2 separate regions of the Homo sapiens genome follow, and region 1 is linked to region 2. Evidence: promoter capture Hi-C in human tissues and cell types (Jung and others, 2019). All regions are on one chromosome and are shown on one strand. Each heading gives the region's core, a stretch centred on a gene start or on the middle of the fragment in contact. The rest is flanking DNA. Distances are from core to core; before and after follow the strand shown.

What was found. Contacts are between HindIII fragments. The study calls those that stand out against the background at their distance.
Region 1: a fragment that was not itself captured here is called in contact with the fragment with the promoter of TUBA1A in region 2 in 4 of the 25 tissues and cell types used here (dorsolateral prefrontal cortex, lymphoblastoid cells, mesenchymal stem cells and 1 more).

The regions. Positions count from the first base shown.
Region 1 is chr12:49,040,024-49,042,523 of GRCh38, reverse strand. KMT2D (lysine methyltransferase 2D) reads left to right here. Exons shown (of 55, transcript NM_003482.4): 29 at 194-435; 30 at 534-607; 31 at 819-869; 32 at 989-2,500. Among named protein-coding and RNA genes, the nearest start is that of KMT2D, 20 kb to the left of the region's middle. The HindIII fragment of the contact is 6,740 bases long and covers 1-2,500 here.
Region 2 is chr12:49,187,186-49,192,609 of GRCh38, reverse strand. TUBA1A (tubulin alpha 1a) reads left to right here and starts at 3,530. Exons shown (of 4, transcript NM_006009.4): 1 at 3,530-3,633. The coding sequence starts at 3,631. RefSeq lists enhancers at 3,642-3,761, 3,260-3,851. The HindIII fragment of the contact is 17,236 bases long and covers 1-5,424 here.

The DNA of each region.
Region 1 (2,500 bases), core at 1-2,500, 150 kb after region 2:
TTGTCCTTTCCCTCCATCTGAGTTCATGCTTTGCCTCCCTCGGACTCCTGCAGCACTTCCCCTGCTCCTCCCCATTCCCTTGTTAGTGACCCTCCTCTTTTGGGGCAGGGCAGTGGCCTGGGGCTCTAGGCAGTTTGTCTGGGGTGGGACTTGGCATCCCTGCGCCCTGTGACTCTCTGCCCCTGCGCCCCAGGGAGCGCGGGGGCTTCTTTAGCCCGGAACCCGGTGAGCCCGACAGCCCCTGGACGGGCTCAGGTGGCACCACGCCCTCCACCCCCACAACCCCCACCACGGAGGGTGAGGGCGACGGACTCTCCTATAACCAGCGGAGTCTTCAGCGCTGGGAGAAGGATGAGGAGTTGGGCCAGCTGTCCACCATCTCACCTGTGCTCTATGCCAACATTAATTTTCCTAATCTCAAGCAAGACTACCCAGGTACCTGTGGGATGAGGGCAAGGGAGACAGCCTGGCAACATGGCAGGTGGAGGAGTCGCCTGCCAAGTCTTCTCTGACTCACTCTCTCTGCCCTCCAGACTGGTCAAGCCGTTGCAAACAAATCATGAAGCTCTGGAGAAAGGTTCCAGCAGCTGACAAAGCCCCCTACCTGGTGAGGCAGAAAGGAGCATGGATTAGCGTGGGAACTGAGAGGGAGGGAGGGATCTTTGGGTAATTTACCTCAGTTCTTTCCGCTCCCCACTCCTAAAGCAGCTGGGCCAGAAGGGATCTGCTTCTGGGTAGGGAGTGTGAAAACACTACAGTATGGGGGCGGGGCATGAGACCAAGCACTAGGCCCTAAGGCTGTGTCCCATATCCCTCAGCAAAAGGCCAAAGATAACCGGGCAGCTCACCGCATCAACAAGGTGCAGAAGGTGAGTGGGGCTGGGCTGGGGTGTAGCAGTCCTCTAGTGGGTGGCCTCTCTTGAGGGTGGAGGGCCATGGGGCCTGCCTGCAGCAGCCTGACTGCCCTATGCCTGGTCTCCCCCTGTAGCAGGCTGAGAGCCAGATCAACAAGCAGACCAAGGTGGGCGACATAGCCCGTAAGACTGACCGACCGGCCCTACATCTCCGCATTCCCCCGCAGCCAGGGGCACTGGGCAGCCCGCCCCCCGCTGCTGCCCCCACCATTTTCATTGGCAGCCCCACTACCCCCGCCGGCTTGTCTACCTCTGCGGACGGGTTCCTGAAGCCGCCGGCGGGCTCGGTGCCTGGCCCTGACTCGCCTGGTGAGCTCTTCCTCAAGCTCCCACCCCAGGTGCCCGCCCAAGTGCCTTCGCAGGACCCCTTTGGACTGGCCCCTGCCTATCCCCTGGAGCCCCGCTTCCCCACGGCACCGCCCACCTATCCCCCCTATCCTAGTCCTACGGGGGCCCCTGCGCAGCCCCCGATGCTGGGCGCCTCATCTCGTCCTGGGGCTGGCCAGCCAGGGGAATTCCACACTACCCCACCTGGCACCCCCAGACACCAGCCCTCCACACCTGACCCATTCCTCAAACCCCGCTGCCCCTCGCTGGATAACTTGGCTGTGCCTGAGAGCCCTGGGGTAGGGGGAGGCAAAGCTTCCGAGCCCCTGCTCTCGCCCCCACCTTTTGGGGAGTCCCGGAAGGCCCTAGAGGTGAAGAAGGAAGAGCTTGGGGCATCCTCTCCTAGCTATGGGCCCCCAAACCTGGGCTTTGTTGACTCACCCTCCTCAGGCACCCACCTGGGTGGCCTGGAGTTAAAGACACCTGATGTCTTCAAAGCCCCCCTGACCCCTCGGGCATCTCAGGTAGAGCCCCAGAGCCCGGGCTTGGGCCTAAGGCCCCAGGAGCCACCCCCTGCCCAGGCTTTGGCACCTTCTCCTCCAAGTCACCCAGACATCTTTCGCCCTGGCTCCTACACTGACCCATATGCTCAGCCCCCATTGACTCCTCGGCCCCAACCTCCGCCCCCTGAGAGCTGCTGTGCTCTGCCCCCTCGCTCACTGCCCTCCGACCCTTTCTCCCGAGTGCCTGCCAGTCCTCAGTCCCAGTCCAGCTCCCAGTCTCCACTGACACCCCGGCCTCTGTCTGCTGAAGCTTTTTGCCCATCACCCGTTACCCCTCGCTTCCAGTCCCCTGACCCTTATTCTCGCCCACCCTCACGCCCTCAGTCCCGTGACCCATTTGCCCCATTGCATAAGCCACCCCGACCCCAGCCCCCTGAAGTTGCCTTTAAGGCTGGGTCTCTAGCCCACACTTCGCTGGGGGCTGGGGGGTTCCCAGCAGCCCTGCCCGCGGGGCCAGCAGGTGAGCTCCATGCCAAGGTCCCAAGTGGGCAGCCCCCCAATTTTGTCCGGTCCCCTGGGACGGGTGCATTTGTGGGCACCCCCTCTCCCATGCGTTTCACTTTCCCTCAGGCAGTAGGGGAGCCTTCCCTAAAGCCCCCTGTCCCTCAGCCTGGTCTCCCGCCACCCCATGGGATCAACAGCCATTTTGGGCCCGGCCCCACCTTGGGCAAGCCTCAAAGCACAAACTACACAGTA
Region 2 (5,424 bases), core at 2,281-4,780:
TTCTTCACCACCTAGGATGGTCTTGGGCTTACTCAGTAAATGCTTGCTGATTATAAATGGTAAAATACTTTATTAAATATCTTTTTTTAAGACAGAGTCTCACTCTGTTGCTCAGGCTGGAGTGCAGTGGTATGATCTCAGCTCACTACAACCTCCGCCTCCCGAGTTCAAGCGATTCTTATGCCTCAATCTCTACAATAACTGGGATTACAGGCACAAGCCACCACACCTGGCTGGTGTTTTGTTTTGTTTTAGTAGAGGTGGGGTTTCGCCATGTTGGCTAGGCTGGTCTCGAACTCCTGAACTCAAATAATCCCCTGCCTCGGCCTCCCAAAGTGCTGGGATTAAAGGCATGAGCCACTGCGCAAGGGCTAATTTTTATGTTTTTGATAGAGACAGGGTTTCACCATGTTGTCCAGGCTGGTCTCAAACTCCTAACCTCAGGTGGCCCACCACCTTGGCCTCCCAAAGTGCTGGGATTACAGGAGTAAGCCACCGCTCTGGCCAATATCTTTACATTACTAAGCATGATAATAGGTAATGAAAATCTGCACAGGCCGGGCACCATGGATCATGCCTGTAATCCTAGCACTTTAGGAGGCTGAGGCAGGTGGATCACCTGAAGTCAGGAGTTCAAGACCAGACTGGCCAACATGGCGAAACCCCGTCTCTACTAAAAACACAAAAATTAGCTGGGTGTGGTGGCCAGCACCTGTAATCCCAGCTACTCGGGAGGTTGAGGCAGGAGAATCGCTTGAACTCGGGAAGCGGAGGTTGCAGTGAGCTGAGATCATGTCACTGACTCCAGCCTGGGCAACCGAATGAGACTCCATCTCAAAAAAAAGAAAGAAAGAAAGAGAGAAAGAAAGAAAGAGAGAGAGAGAGAGAGAGAGAGAGAAAGAAAGAAAGAAAGGAAGAAAGAAAGAAAGAGAAAGAAACTGCACAGAGAGCTGTTCATTTAATTGAGCAAACATGTAGTGTATAACGTCTACTGTAGTTAGGCACTTTGACAGGAATTAGGACTTACATTTTAATGGAGGAGAAATGTAGACATGTGAATAAATGATTAAAATTCTACAAATATTATGAAAGAAGAATGTTTTATGCTAATCTTACTGTGTACAAGAATGAATCCATTAGCAGAATACTTGTACATGTATATTGATGTCAAATTTTTTTAAATGGCAATAAAAATAAGAGATGAACTAGTAAAAAAAGTATTGTTTTCCTTTCCACAGTTTGAGTGCTATTAAATCAGATAATAAAGAACAAAAATTATAGATTAGTTATTTCCCCGATCTCTTGTTTATATATTTGAGATTATCAGTGCCTAAATAGTCTATTTCTGACCTAGATCTTGTTACATATGCCCAAGCGGAGGGAATAACCCTCATTTACATAAGGAACAGAATGGCTCTGAGATAGAATTTCAAAGAATCAACCACGTGAACCCTCCTCTCTTTTATTTAATCCTTTGGAAATTGCATAAAGAACTGAGACTATTGGATAAGTGACATATTTCTTAATTAATCTTTTTATATTGTAAAGAAAATAATGTTCAAACTCTGCTTCTCATTCCAAAAAGACTTGTACATGTTACTATAGTCCAATAGTGTCTGATATATTTTATTATTAAAATTGTGAAAGTATTTTGAATGAGCTACTTATTAATCCTTATGCTTCCTTATGCCATTTAATTCTTATTTTTGTTAAATATATTTCTGGGTTCTGAAAGAAGCATTCAAATACCTAATCCTCCTGTCTCTTCTGAAATATACTTTTTTTTTTTTTTTGCTAAAGAAGTGGAGATAAGATGATGTTGAGGATTATTTTTTCCTAGGAAATATACAATAAGTAGATAAAATGATTTTTGCATTTTGGATATTATTTTTTTTCCAGAGAATATTACTGAAGCAAAATTGATCAAGTAAAGCAGAACTGTGGATGGCAGGCTAGAAAAATCTGTGGTCGCCATTGTCACACCACAACCTGCAGCAGCTGTATTCTCAAGTCCCTCCCTCCCACGCCCTTCTTAGCCTGCCAGCCTAGCAGGAATGAATGGGTTCCGCAGAGCACTGTGTGAGTAGTGCTGCAGACCCTGAAAATTTGTCTCTGAAAACCAAAAGGAAAAATTATTTGTAAAAAATAAATTTTCAACTTTAGTGGCCAAACTTATTTACCTCTGAAATTTCATCACCAACATCCAGTGGTACGAAGTCCAGTGACTTACTCCGGATCGTTGCTGAGAATGGAGGCTTCCTAAATATCAAGATAATTTTACTCCAATTTATTTCCTAGGGGTGAAAGCAAAGCCTTTTTGTCCCAAGGGACAACTGAGCAACCACCAGAGTCTCTAGCTGAACAGCAAGGGTGTGAGGCCGGCTAAAATTCCCACAGTTAGAAGCCCACTCGCAGGAGGATATTTACCAAATTGACATAAGAACTACATAAAAAGGAAATGCGTTTATTGAGCTGATGTTTCACAGTTGTCTGTGGATGGAGGCGACATTGCAAAATTCTTTTTACATTATATTATTCTCTTCTTCTTTTTAATTTGGTGTATTGGTTATTACTATTATTTTGCTTGTTACTTTCCAGACAAAAGTCCAATTCAGATATGTAACTGCACACATGTAGTACTAACTTCTGAGCTCAATTATTTCTCCTTGTATTTTCCCAATTTTCTATCAGGAAAGATGATTCATTCCAAAGGACAATGTACCATACAAAATGTGTTACATAGACTTCTCATAAAAGAATACCTCTAGTAAACCATTATAACTACTCTACGTTCACTTGCTCTTGATTATTGCCATGTTAGAACTATTTGTTCGCTTCTTTATTTAATATGGTTATTCTTTCCATCTTCCAGTTTTGTTTAGCTATTCGGGTGTGCGTGTGCCTGCAGAAGAAGCTCTGAAAATAAGTTAGTTGAACCTGAGAAACCATTTGGAATGACCGTATGGCTAAATCTTTTTTTAAATTAAAAAAATCACATATACCCAGGCCATTTCGAGCATCATGCCGATTTTCCCTCCCACTTTACGTTTAAAGCAATTAGAGATGTTGAACCCTAACAAAATGTAGTCGAGTTTAATATACTACGAGGGAGGGGCTGGCAGTCATTTTCCTTTAAATATTTAATCTAAACATAAATTGTTATTAAGGGTAGGGGGAAAAAACCTCACATAGATAATTTTAACTGCAGTTTGAGGTTTAAGCAACAGAAAGTCTTCTAACCCCAGTCCCCTTTCTTCTCCTTCCGCCCCTCCCCAACCCCGCCCCATAATGGATGCTCGGCCGACTGCTTCTGCACGGTCTCTTTGTCTAAAGGATGCAAACAGTCTACGGATGCTAGAGAAAAAGGGGTGGGGGAGAGATTACCTCATCCCACGTCGCTTGCACCAATCACCAGTCTCCTGTCATGGCTTCTCTGGGCAGATTGGGGGTCTGGACCAACAGGAAAAGGCCCCGGCCCATCCCCATGGTGACCGAGTTGTATATAGGGAGCCGCATCCGCCTATGTGCCGCAGGTTCTCTTACATCGACCGCCTAAGAGTCGCGCTGTAAGAAGCAACAACCTCTCCTCTTCGTCTCCGCCATCAGCTCGGCAGTCGCGAAGCAGCAACCATGGTGAGAATCGGCTTCGGCTCTTTGTGGCCGTTGGGTGGAGTCAGCGCCCCCAGGCTCTACTTGGAAAACCTTTAAGCTCTTTTCTTTCGTAAGCTCTCTGGGCGAGGGTGGTGGTATGTTTTGTGAGGTTTAGCTTAGCCCCAAATCCTCAAGCCCCGCCGCCGCCGCAGTGCGGGTGCAGGAACCGGGCCAGTACTGCGCCCAGGGCGCAGCAGAGCGCTGGGGAGGAACAAAGGCGGCGCCTAGGCGCCTGTGTTATCCGAGAGACTTTCGGGGGCCGCGGGCAGCCCGTCTGCCGCGACCGAGGGGTCTGGGGCGTCCCGGCTGGGCCCCGTGTCTGTGCGCACGGTTTCGCTGATGCTGAGGGGCCACTTTCTGTCTCGCGTTGTTCTCTGGGGACCGGGAGAGGAGGAGGCACCCAAAAAGAGCGGGGGCGTTGGGCGAGCTGGGGGACGTGGGAGGGGGAACGGGAACAAAGCGCAGCCTAGGGTTAGCGTGGGAAGACCCTCCGCGGTCTTTGGCGTTTTGGAAAGATACCCACACATTCCCGGGAAAACATGGTGAGTTTCTGCCGGAGCCCCCGGCAGCGGGTGTCAGGGCGGCGCAGGGGCGGGGTTGTTTGTTTCTGGCTTCTATGGCGTTGGAGCCACTGGGCGGGGTTCGCCCTCACTGAACCTCTTCTGTCAGGAGCTGACTGAAAAAAAAACAAAAAAACCTTTCATCATTGCGGAACTGTAGGCTCCAAAAGGGTTTTCTTCACTATTATAAGTTAGATGACTTTTTTTTTTCTTGAGCAAAATCATAATTCACTTCACAAGCTCTTTAATGTCTGGTCTGGGGACGCCCTGCCCTGACCGACTGAAGTGTGTGTGTGTGTGTGTGTGTGTGTGTGTGTGTGTCTGTGGGACGCCCTGCCCTGACCGACTGAAGTGTGTGTGTGTGTGTGTGTGTGTCTGTCTGTCTGTCTGGACTGCACGTTCAGCGAGGGAGAAAGCCCACTTTGTGAGCCCCAGGGTACCCTGATGGTCAGGACCCAGGGAAACGCCCTTCCCCGCCGCCCCCCCGCCCCGCCCCCACCACATCAGCGAATAGACAATGAAAGTGGTAGCCCTAAAGACCACAGAGAAGAAAACCTCTATTGGATGCAAAGAATATGAATATTATGTGATGGGTAGAGAATCTCAGGATGAAAATACTATTTTGTTGTTTTAAATAAATATTTCATTATCCTTCCACTGGGCTTTTATTCTTTGGTACCTTTTCATGTGATGCTTGTTTCTAACTTAGGAACTTTTGTGTGTGTGTGTGTTAAGATACGGATAATTTTTCAGCTTTTACAGTGGAGAAGATCTGGAAAAACCTTTTTTTTTAAAAAAAAAAGTAATGAAATTGCTACAGACAAAGAAGAATTATACTCCGCATCCCGTTGTCTTTTGTTCCAGTGCATCTTAATTAATTCATTTCAATTCAGGCACATGGTCCCGGGCGGGGTCAGAGGAGGAAAACTGGCAAAACAGCACAATGAGATCATGTAGGCAGCTGCTGGAAATAGAGCTTGCTCTGTTAAATAATGTAGCAGACAGTACAGGCTAGCACCAGGCACAGCAAATACAGCAATGCAGCAATGCAGAAGGCAGACCTTGTCTAAACTCCTAGTATTGATGGATTCTGCAGACAGACTGCAGAAGGGTGTGGCTTCTTGCCTCAGCTGCAGTACAGATGTCCGGATTATAATATCAAGTCCTATTCAGAGGAAACTTTCATCTTTATTTAAAAGGGAAGAAAGCAGTA